Linked DNA regions of Homo sapiens: region 1 is linked to region 2. Evidence: promoter capture Hi-C in 16 types of primary human blood cells and fetal thymus (Javierre and others, 2016). All regions are on one chromosome and are shown on one strand. Each heading gives the region's core, a stretch centred on a gene start or on the middle of the fragment in contact. The rest is flanking DNA. Distances are from core to core; before and after follow the strand shown.

What was found. The method cuts DNA at HindIII sites, captures the fragments that hold promoters and counts their contacts. A CHiCAGO score of 5 or more calls a contact.
Region 1: a contact is called between a fragment that was not itself captured here and the fragment with the promoter of MRPL4 in region 2, in 1 of 17 cell types (naive B cells). The highest score is 5.1, in naive B cells.

The regions. Positions count from the first base shown.
Region 1 is chr19:9,620,877-9,626,530 of GRCh38, reverse strand. It overlaps ZNF561-AS1 (ZNF561 antisense RNA 1), which reads right to left and starts at 5,049. Exons shown (of 4, transcript NR_122038.1): 1 at 4,886-5,049. ZNF561 (zinc finger protein 561) reads left to right here and starts at 5,299. Exons shown (of 6, transcript NM_152289.3): 1 at 5,299-5,369. RefSeq lists enhancers at 4,970-5,389, 5,538-5,654. The HindIII fragment of the contact is 3,033 bases long and covers 519-3,551 here.
Region 2 is chr19:10,250,333-10,256,376 of GRCh38, reverse strand. MRPL4 (mitochondrial ribosomal protein L4) reads right to left here and starts at 4,163. Exons shown (of 9, transcript NM_015956.3): 1 at 4,067-4,163; 2 at 3,914-3,980; 3 at 3,676-3,826; 4 at 1,737-1,788. The coding sequence starts at 4,123. RefSeq lists enhancers at 3,661-4,234, 4,091-4,500, 4,631-4,780, 4,235-4,808. The HindIII fragment of the contact is 20,723 bases long and covers 1-6,044 here.

The sequences.
Region 1 (5,654 bases), core at 786-3,285, 630 kb after region 2:
ATTATATCCAATATCTGACAGCCATAGATAAGATAACTCCAGGGCTATGAAAACCCCATACCCCTGCGGTCCTTCAGAGCTTTTTTTTTTTTTTTTTTCTGATGCAGGGTCTTGCTCTGCCACCCAGGCTGGAGTACAGGGGCACAATCTCAGCTCACTGCAGCCTCCATCTCCTGGGTTCAAGCGATTCTCCTGCCTCAGCCTCCCAAGTAGCTGGGATTATAGGCACCTGGCACCATACCTGCTAATTTTTGTATTTTTAGTAGAGACGGAGTTTCACCATATTGGCCAGACTTATCCTTCAGAGCTTTTTAACTGGAAGATATGCTGCCAGTCTGGTGAATATCATCATTTAGTTATTTATAAGCCCCCTCTTTGATTCCCCTTCTCCTCTGAGAGTCTTTCTTCCTTTCCACCCTTTCTGAGCAGCGACCCACAGGTAGAAGCCTGTGGATATTCTCTTGCTGTTTGCTACCTCCCCCACTGCTAACCTGTCAAAGCACATCCCAAATGAAGCTTGTGTGCTACTGCCGCCTTGTGGTAACATCTTTTTCCTTACTCAGCCAAGAAATCACTTAAACACCCTAAATACGTGTGTGGTTTTATTTTTTACACTTAGATCCCTAGTCCACTTGGAGTTTATTCTTGTATATGCTGTGAAGTATGGATTTAATTTCATCTTTTCTCAGATGGCTAACCAGCTATCTTAGACCTTCCATTTGTTACAAATGGCATTTTTTGCCCCATTTATCTGAAATGCCACTTTTTTTTTTTAGACGGTGTTTCTCTCTTGTTGCCCTGGCTGGAATGCAATGGCACGATCTCCACTCACCCCAACCTCCGCCTCCTGGGTTCAAGCGGTTCTCCTGCCTCAGCTTCCTGAGTACCTGGGATTATAAGCATGTGCCACCATGCCCAGCTAATTTTGTATTTTTAGCAGAGACGGGGTTTCTTCATGTTGGTCAGGATGGTCTCTAACTCGTGACCTCAGGTGATCCACCCGCCTCTGCCTCCAAAAGTGCTGGAATTATAGGCATCAGCCAATGCACCCGGCTTTTTTTTTTTTTTTTTTTTTTTTTTTTGAGACAGAGTCTCGCTGTGTCGCCAGGCTGGAGTGAAATGGCGTGATCTCGGCTCACTGCAACCTCTGCCTCCCAGGTTTGAGCAATTCTCTTGCCTCAGCCACCCGAGTAGCTGGGCTTACAGGCGCCCACCACAACGCTTGGCTAATTTTTTTTTTTTTTTTTTTAGACGGAGTCTCGCTCTATCGCCAGGCTGGAGTGCAGGGGAGCGATCTTGGCTCACTGCAACCTCCGCCTCCTGGGTTCAAGCGATTCTCCTACTTCGGCCTCCTGAGTAGCTGGGATTACAGGCACCCGCCACCATGCCAGCTAATTTTTCTATTTTTAGTAGAGACGGGGTTTCACCAAGTTGGCCAGGATGGTCTCGATCTCGTGACGTCGTGATCTGCCTGCCTCAGCCTCCCAAAGTGCTGGGATTACAGGCATGAGCCAGCATGCTCGGCCATGCTTGGCTAAATTTTTTTTCTTTTTTGAGACAGAGTCTCACTCTGTTGCCCAGGCTGGAGTGCAGTGGTGCGATCTCAGCTTACTGCAACCTCCGCCTTCTGGGTTCAAGCAATTCTCCTGCCTCAGCCTCCTGAGTAGCTGAGATTACAGGCATGCATCACCACACCCAGCTAATTTTTGTATTTTTAGTAGAGATGGGATTTCACCATGTTGGTCAGACTAGTCTCGAACTCCTGACCTCATGATCCGGCTGCCTCGGCTTCCCAAAGTTCTGGGATTACAGGCATGAGCCACCGAACCCGGCTATGTTTTTGTATTTTTAATAGAGATGGGGTTTCACCATGTTGGGCAGGCTGGTTTTGAACTCCTGACCTCAAGTGATCCTCCTGCCTCAGTCTCCCAAATTGCTAGGATACAGGCATGAGCCACCGCATCTGGCAAAATACATTTATGAACCAAATTTCTACATGTTCATGGGTCTATTTTTTGATATTTTATTAGTTTCTGTTTCACGTGCTAGTACCACATAGTTTTAATTATAGAGGCTTTATAGTATGTTTTTTAAATTAATTAATTAATTAATTTTTTAGACAGAGTCTCACTCTGTCAGCCAGGCTGCAATTCAGTGGCACAATCTCGGCTCACTGCAACCTTCATCTCCCAGGCTCAAGCAACTCTCCTGCCTCAGCCTCCCAAGTAGCTGGGATTACAAGCATGTGCCACCACGCTTGCTAATTTTTGTACTTCTAGTAGAGACAGGGTTTCACCATGTTAGCCAGGCTGGTATCAAACCCCCGACTTCAGGTAATTTGCCTGCCTCGGCCTCCCAAATTGCTGGGATTACAGGCGTGAGCCACTGTGCCCGGACTTTATTTTTATTTTAAAATAATGTAATTCTTTGCCTTGCATGAAAACTGTCAATAGTATGTTTTAATATCTGCTGCTCATCATTGCTTTTGTTTTTGTTTTCTTGGTTATTATCAGATGTTTGTTCCTCCACATAAACTTCAGTATCAATGTACTTAACTCCAGAAAAAAACTTTTGGTATTTTTATTGGGAGTATGTTACATTTCTGAATAATCTTGGGGAGAATGTCTGGTATCAGTGCTATTTTACAACGTAGGAAATGTGTTCCTGGCCCATGTGGTAAGATCAGAAAAATAACAACAGAAATACATATTTTTGGCTGGGGCAGTGGCTCATGCCTGTAATCCCAGCTCTTTGGGAGGACCAGGTGGATGGATCACGAGGTCAGGACTTTGAGACCAGCTGGGTCAATATGATGAAACCATGTCTGTATTAAAAATGCAAAAATTAGTTGGGCGCAGTGGCACATGCCTGTAGTCCCAACTACTCAGGAGGCTGAGGCAGAAGAATGGCTTGAACCCAGGAGGCAGAGTTTGCAGTGAGTGAAGATCGCACCACTGCACTCCAGTCTGGGTGGCAGAGCGAAACTATGTCTCAAAAAAACAAAACAAAACAAAACATTTTTTAATTTAAATTTTTTTTATATATATATAGAGAGATGGGGTTTTGCTGTGTAGCCCAGGCTTGTCTTAAACTCCTGGCCTTAAACGATCCTACCATCTTGGCCTGGCAGATATTTTAGGCCAGGAGTTCGAGATCAGCCTGGCCAACCTGGTGAAATCGTTCTCTACTAAAAATACAAAAATTAGCTGGGCGTGGTGGCAGGCGCCTGTAATCCCAGCTACTCCAGAGGCTGAGGCAGGAGAATTGCTTGAACCTGGGAGGTGGAGGTTGCGGTGAGCTGAGATCACACCACTGCACTCCAGCCTGGTCTGATCCAGTGAGATCTGTCGCAAGCAAGCAAGCAAGCAAGAAAGAAAAAGAAAACCCAATGGAATCAGCAGGTTCTAAAAAATAAAGAATGAAGAAAAAAAGGCCTACAGAAACTCTGACTGAATGGAAGGGATAGACCATGCCATTCATTGGCAGCTTTATCAATATGGAAGAATCATGGAAAGGCTCTAGGAACATGAGGAGAGGCATACAAACAAGCTTTATATTTATATCTAAAAAGTAAAGCAGAGGTTCCTCTTCAAAGACGTTCCTTCACATTTAATTAGGAATAAATAGTAACTTCTCTTAGAAGCAAAATTTATTCAAAGACCTGTGCTAACATTCTCAAGTATCTGTGAGCCGTGATAAAGAAATCAATGTACTTTATATTCTTAGCTCCCACAGTTTAGTCTACATATTTGCCCTGGCATGCTTGTACTGGTCCAGGCAAGCATTAGGGCATAGCCTGTTCTTTTTCCTTATTTGAAGATGTTTTGACCCTTCTCAGCATTCCACAAGTTACTTCCTCCTTCCTTTGTTCTCCTCTACCCTTGCCTCTTTTAAAAAGTTATAAGTTGCTAGCCAGAACGTGAGGTCCCATTCCAGCCAGTGGAAACTGGACACAGCAGTAGGTTGGAAGCATCAGGTTATAAATGACCCTATCTCCTTTGTTTGGTGTACTCTCGTGGCAAAACTGCTGGTGAGTATACCGTTTCTGCAGGAAGTAAAAATGGCCTTGCTGAGTAAATTAAATTTATGTTCAAGTGCTAATTTCTTTATGGCACCAGGGAACAAGCATTTTGAACATGTATATTTATATATTTTTTATATATTTATATATTTATATGTATTTATACATATATGTTTATATATATATATATAGAGAGAGAGAGAGAGAGAGAGACAGGGTCTTGCTACTTTGCCCAGGCTGGTCTCAAACTCTTGGACTTGTAGAAAATGAAATAAATACAGGTTCCTCTTCAAAGGGACTTTCCTCCCAGTCTGATTGAAATAAATAGTAATCCCTCTTAGAAGCCAAATTTTCTCAAAGACCTGTGGTAATATTGTTAAATTCTGCCAGCCGTAATAAAGAAATCAATAGACTCTGTTTTTAGCTCCCACATTTTAGCCTAGATATTTGCCCTGGCATGCCTGAACTGGTCCAAGCAACTATTAGGTCATGGCCTATTCCTTTCCCTATTTAGAAGTGTTTTTGCCTCTCTCAACAGTCCACAAGTTACTTCCTCTCTTCCTTTGTTCTCCTCTGCCATTGCCTCTTTTGGGAAGTTCTAAGTTGCTAGCCAATCCAGTGAAGTACAGGAAGGTGAGGTCCCGTTCCAGCCAATGGAAGCTGGACACAGCAGAAGGATGGACACTTCAAGTTTAAAAAAACCCTGTCTCCTTTGTTAATGTGTGCTCTGGTGGCAAGACTGCCAGCCAGTGGCACCCATTCTGCAGAAAGTAAAACTAGCCTTGCTGAGATCCTTTGTCTCAGTGTTGATTTTGTGACACCAAGCGAGCACCCATTCCCAGCAGACTCAAGCTATTTACCTACCTTAGCCTCCCAAAGTGCAGGAATTACAGGCGTGAGCCACTGCGCTCGCCCGATAAAAGCTTTGGAGGAGCATCCCCCGGGGATGCGTCCCATCCCTCATCCCCGCCCTTCCAGCCCGACCGGCCACCTGAACCACCGGCTAGGCCGGGTCCCTCCTCTAAATCACCCCCCGAGTACGAGCCCCTCCCCTCGCCCACAGTTCCGTCTGGAGGCCCGGTTCTAACCTCACCTTTTTCTCTGGACCTAGTTCTGCATCCCCCTCCCTGAGCCAACCCCAGGCCCTTTCTGCACCCACCCGAGAGGAAACTAGAATTTCTGTGTTCTACCCGGTCCTACGTGGCTGAAACTGGAGCCCACGAGCCTCGCCCGGCCAGAGTGTTGAAGCGGAAGTGACGTCAGCGCACCACCGCCATCTTTTCCGGCGCTGGCTCCTCTCCGTCAGTGCGGTTTCGCCTTTATGGTGGTGGAGTCTGCCCAGGCTGTGGTGAGTTCCACCTCCTTGGCGGTCCCGGGGATAGCAGGGGGCGGCAAAGGAATGATTGCGCGCTGTCGCCTAGGAGCCTCTCAGATCCGCTTCACTTCACTCGCTTCTCCAGGGACTATCAGTCCTCCCTGTGCGTCCAGTTCGGAGAGGCTGCGCGCTCTCTCGGCTCACTGCAACCTCTGCAACCTCTGCCTCCAGGGTCAAGCAGTTCTCCTGCCTCAGCCTTCCGAGTACCTGGGATTACAGGCAAGTGCCACCACGCCCGGCTACTTTTTCTATCTTTAG
Region 2 (6,044 bases), core at 2,914-5,413:
ATTCCTAGATTCAAGCGATTCTCCTGCCTCAGCCTCCCTAGTAGCTGAGATTACGGGTGCCTGTCACCATGCCCGGCTAATTTTTTTTTTTGAGATGGAGTCTCGCTCTGTCGCCCACGCTGGAGTGCAGTGGCGCGATCTCGGCTCACTGCAACCTCCGCCTCCCAGGTTCAAGCAATTCTCCTGTCTCAGCCTCCAGAGTAGCTGGGACTACAGGCGCCCGCTGCCACACCCAACTAATATTTGTATTTTTAGTAGAGATGGGGTTTCACCATATTGGTCAGGCTGGTCTCGATCTCCCGACCTCGTGATCCATCCGCCTCGGCCTCCCAAAGTACTGGGATTACAGGTGTGAGCCACCGCACCTGGCCCCAGCTAATTTTTTGTATTTTCAGTAGAGATGGGGTTTTGCCACGTTGACTAGGCTGGTTTGGAACTCCTGGCCTCAAGTGATCCACCTGCCTTGGCCTCCCAAAGTGCTGAGATTACAGGTGTGAGCCACCGTGCCGGCCTATTTTTTGAACAATTTTAATGTGGTTGTAGCCACAAGGAGGGAGGGCCATGGGAAATGACACAGACAGGGAGAATCAGGAAAGAGGAGCAGGGCAAGGAAATCAGGAAGAACTCAGAATAGCAGACTGATGACTTTATTCCTAGGGTGATGGGGAGCCAGGGAAGGTGTGAGCAGGGGGAGGACTGGCCAGACCTCTGGGGTGGATGGATAAGACCCTGACTGGTAATGGATTCTTCAATGTTCTTGGCACAAAACCCAGACTCCTCCCCACTGCTCCCACTGGCCTCTGTGGCAACACTGGCTTCCTTGTGGTCCCTGCCACAGGGCCTTTGCACACCCTGTTCCTGTTATCTCCACACTAGCCCCACTGCCTCCTTGATCTGGTTAGCTTCTACAGTAGACCCAAGGTTGAACGTCCCATTCTCTGGGACATGCTCATAATTACACATTACGTATGACCATCTGACTCACCTTCACTTCTCCTCCCATGACACTGTGACCTTCATTAGAATAGGGACTTTGCCCATCTTTTTCTTGGGGTTGTGGGGGAAGGGGTAGAGACTGGGTCTTGCTGTTTCCCAGGCTGGTCTTTCCTGGCCCCAAGCAACCCACCCACCTCAGCTTCCAGTGCTGGGATTACAGGCCTGAGCCACTTGCACACAGCCGGACCTTGCCTGTTTTGTCCTCGTGGTCCCTGCTATATCCTCTCACCCACCACAATGCCCACATCAGTGAGTGATCAGAAAACAACTGAAAATGAGCTGGGCACGGTGGCTCACGCCTGTAATCCCAGCACTTTGGGAGGCCAAGGCAGGTAGGTTCCTTGAGGTCAGGAGTTTGAGACCAGCCTGACCAACATGGTGAAACTCCATCTCTACTAAAAATACAAAAATTAGCCTGCATGGTGGTGCACACCTGTAATCCCAGCTACTCAGGAGGCAGAGGCAGGAGAATCGCTTGAACCCAGGAAGCGGAGGTTGCAGTGAACCAAGATTGCGCCACTGCACTCCAGCCTGGGTGACAGAGTGAGACTCCATCTCCATCTCAAAAACAAACAAAAAAAAGAGAACCAAAAATGGACCCATCGGTGAATAGTTCAGGAGACAGATGAGGCCCCAGCCGAGCAGTCCAGAGAAAACCCAGCGATGGGCTTCCTCTGGGTCCTATCCCCAACCTCCCCAGGAAGCTCCTTCCCACCACCTTGCTCCATTTAGGCACTCACAATTCTCTTGAAGTTCTTCTGCCACATAGCAACCTGGTGCAGTATGTCCAGCCTGCGGGGAGGAAGGACACATGAGAAGCCCAACTCTGCTTCAAACGCTCCCACCCCACTATAGGAAAACCCAGGATTCTCCCTTCTGCCTCCAGGGCCCTGGGCGATTTGCCTCTGCCCCTCACTGACCCCATCTTGAAATTCTGCCTCAGGGCCTTGGCACTTGCTGTTCCCTCTGCCTGAAACACTCTTCTCCTGGATGGTTCTTTCTCAGCCTACAGGTAGCAGCTCCAATAACTGCTGAAAGGTACCTTCTAAAGAAAGAGCCACCCTGACCAGGTGCAGTGGCTCATGCCTGGAATCCTGGCACTTTGGGAGGCCAAGGCAGGTGGATCACTTGAGGCAAGGAGTAAGACCAGCCTGGGCAACATGGCAAAGTGATGTCTCTCCAAAATATACAAAGATTAGCTGGGCACGGTGGTACATGTCTGTCATTCTGGCTACTCGGGAGGCTGAGGCATGAGAATTAGTAGAACCCAGGAGGCGGAGGTTGAAGTGAGCTGAGAGCATGCCATTGCACTCCAGCCTGGGCGACAAGAGCGAAACTTCATCTCAGAAAAAAAAAGCCACCCCTTCTTCCTTGTTTTTCCTACCATTACTTTTTTCCTGCTATTACACTTCACTTATTGCCACCTTCTTCAGGGACTGGTTTTCCTCTCTAGTTCTATACCATTCCATACAGTCACATACTCAACATCTGAAACATGGCCAGTGCCCCATGCTACAATGTGATTTCGACATAGTTTTAAATACAGGTTAAATACATTATTGAAATCAATTTCACCTGTTTTTTTTTTTGAGATGGAGTCTGTCTCTGTCGCCCAGGCTGGAGTGCAGTAGTATAATCACGGCTCACTGCAACCTCCATCTCCCCAGGTGCAAGCGATTCTCATGCCTCAGCCTCCTGAGTAGCTGGGACTACAGGCTTGCACTAAGACGTCCGGCTAATTTTTGTATTTTTGGTAGAGACGGGGTTTCATCATGTTGGCCAGGCTGGTCTGCAACTCCTGGTTTCAAGTGATCCGCCCACCTCGGCCTCCCAATGTGCTGGGATTACAGATGTGAGCCACAGTAACTGGCCCCTACATTTTCTTTTCTTTCTTTTTTTTTTTTTTTTTTGAGACAGAGTGTTGCCCAGGATGGAGTGCAGTGGCGCGATCTCGGCTCACTGCAAGCTCCGCCTCCCGGGTTCACGCCATTCTCTTGCCTCAGCCTCCAGAGTACCTGGGACTACAGACGCCCGCCACCACGCCCGGCTAATTTTTTTTTGTATTTTTAGTAGAGACGGGGTTTCACCATGTTAGCCAGGATGGTCTCGATCTCCTGACCTCGTGATCCGCCCGCCTTGGCCTCCCAAAGTGCTGGGATTACAGGCGTGAGCCACTGCGCCCAGGGTGGCCCCTACATTTTCTTAGAGATGTTATGAACAGCAGGGTAACTAAAATGCAAACAGCCTCTTCCAGGCACCGAGGAATGGTTTAGTCTTTTTAGTGCTCTTATTTGCAAAAACCAGTTAACAAAGATTATCAACATTTCTATAGAACTTATTATGTGCCAGAATTAAGTCATTTATTCATCACAGCAACCTCCCGACCGCTGACAAAATAGGGACACTGAGGGACAAGAGGGGAAGGCAGGATTTGAACCTAATCAGTCGGGCTCCAGAATTCTGTCTCCCTAACCCTTAGATGATGTCACCTCTCAGGCTTCAATCTCACACAGCGCTACAGCAGGGGAAACTGTCATCATTCCCCTTTGACAGGTGGAGAAACGGAGGCTGTAGAAATACAGCACTTTCCCAAGGGTACAAGCCCAAAGTCATCGTGACTCCTGAAATCCCGCTCTTCATCCCTCTGCCACTCAGTTCACCATTACAGCCCTCGCTCACCTGGGCGCGGTGGCGAAAACATCGGGGTGCAGGTCGGCCAGGCCCACGCGCTCCTGCTCGAAGCCCCGCAAGGACTCGACCCAGGCCTGCACTGGGCGTCGATGAGTGGGTACCGGGAGCTCGACTTTGCGCAGCACGGGCTCCGGGAGACCTGGAGCGATTGCGGGGGTCAGAGGTTAGGGTCAAGGGTCAGACCTCTCTGTCGCCGCCCCTCCTGGAGCCACCCCGGTTGCCTTACCCTCGCTCGCCACCTGCTCCGGGTTCTCGGTCGCACGCGCTGCCTCTTCCGCCAGGGAACTCAGGCCCTGCAAGGGTTGGGCGAAAGTGAGAGACGACCCCTGGACACCCCCAAATTTCATCCTTCGACCACGCCTCCAGCCCCTGGCCTCACCTGGCTGCCGGTAGGCCGAAGCCAGGCCCGCGCCCCGGCCCGGACGAACTGCAGCATCGCCGCGCAGCCTCCCACGCCGCGGGAGGTCAAGGCCACTGGAGCCTCGCGAGGCGCCGCTGGATGACGTCACGCACGCGACGCCGCCCTACCCGCCGCGACTCCGCGCTGGAAAGCGGGGTGTGCAAAACCGAAGATGGAGGGGGTCCGACCCGGCGTGCCCAGACCTCCACCCCAGGACTAACCCCCAGACCCAATTTTCACTCCTGCCTCAAGGACCCTCCGTAACACTGGGGAACGCGACCTCACAGCAAGAAGACCCAGCTTCCGTAGGCCTAGCCTACTTTGGGTCCCGCCTCCGACGAGCCGGTGCAGGAATTCAGCCAATGAGACCTCTCTGGCCCAATTCAGCCAATGACTGTTAAGCCTGAAGGAGTGACCCCCGCCCATAAGTGGGCAGTTCTGGAGTGAGCAACTAAGGAATACAGCCAATAACGCTTAAACTTTTGCTGTTGGTCACGCCCACCGGGCCACGCCTTCATCCCGCCTCCAAGGCTGTCGGAGATGGTTTTTTCTTTATCCAGTTATGTGGTTTTGTTTTTTTATTTGTTTTTTTGTTTTTGTTTTTGTTTTTGTTTTTGTTTTTTTTGAGACGGAGTCTTGCTCTGTTGCCCAGGCTGGAGTGCAGTGGCGCGATCTCGGCTCACTGCAAGCTCCGCCTCCTGGGTTCACGCCATTCTCCTGCCTCAGCCTCCCGAGTAGCTGGGACTGCAGGCGCCCGCCACCACGCCTGGCTAATTTTTTGTATTTTTAGTAGAGACGGGTATCACCGCGTTAGCCAGGATGGTCTCGATCTCCTGACCTCGTGATCCTCCCGCCTCAGCCTTCCAAAGTGCTGGGATTACAGGCGTGAGCCACCGTGCCTGGCGTTTTTTCATTTGTTTAAAGGCAGGGCCTTATTGCCCTCAGAAAGCCTTCAGGATTGGGCCTGCCAGACCATGCCTCCCAGTTTAGATTCCCCAGGGCAGGGCCATGTCCCCCCGAAACCCCTCAGATTAGGTATTTGTGTCCCTTACCCCCTAGACCAGGGTCCTCTCCCCTACCCCCTTAAACCAGGTCCCGTCCCCTCTCAGACCTTCCAGGGCTCTCCAAGGACAGAACAAAGTGGGGAGTCCACAGATCCTGGAGTGCCTCCCTTGTCGCCCCCTAACAAATCCGAATGCTTATTTTTAGTTTCTTTGTTTTGGTTTTTAGAGACAAGGTCTTCCTCTGTCGCCCAGGCTGGAGTGCAATGGGCAAGATCATGGCTTACTGCAGCCTCGACCTCCAGAGCTCAAGGGATTCTCCTGCCTCTGTCTCCTGAGTAGCTGGTCTACAGGTACGCAAGCCCGGCTCATTTTTGTATTGTATTTTTTTATTTTGTATTTGTATTTTGAGATGGAGTATCGCTCTGTCGCCCAGGCCGGAGTGCAGTGGTGTGAGATCGCACATCTCGGCCTCCCGGGTTCAAGCGATTCCCTGCCTCAGCTTACCGAGTAGCTGGGACTACAGGCGCCCGCCACCACACCTGGCTAACTTTTTGTATTTTTAGTAGAGAGGGGGTTTCACCGTGTTAGCCAGGATGGTCTCAATCTCCTGACCTCGTGATCCGCCCGCCTCGGCTTCCCAAAGTGCTGGGATTACAGGCGTGAGCCACCGAGCCCGGCCCTAATTTTCGTGTTTTTATTAGAGACAGTGTGGCACCACGTTGGCCAGGCTGGTCTTGAACTCCTGACCTCAGGTGATCCACCCGCCTCGGCCTCCCAAAGTGCTGGGATTACAGGCCTGAGCCACCGCGCCCGGCCTAATTTTTTTTTTGTAGAGATGGCGGGGGGTGGGTCTCCCAATGTTGCCCAGGCTGGTCTTGAACTCCTGGGCTCAAGCAATTCTCCCGCATTGGTCCCCCAAAGTGCTGGGATTACAGGCATGAGCTACTGTGGCC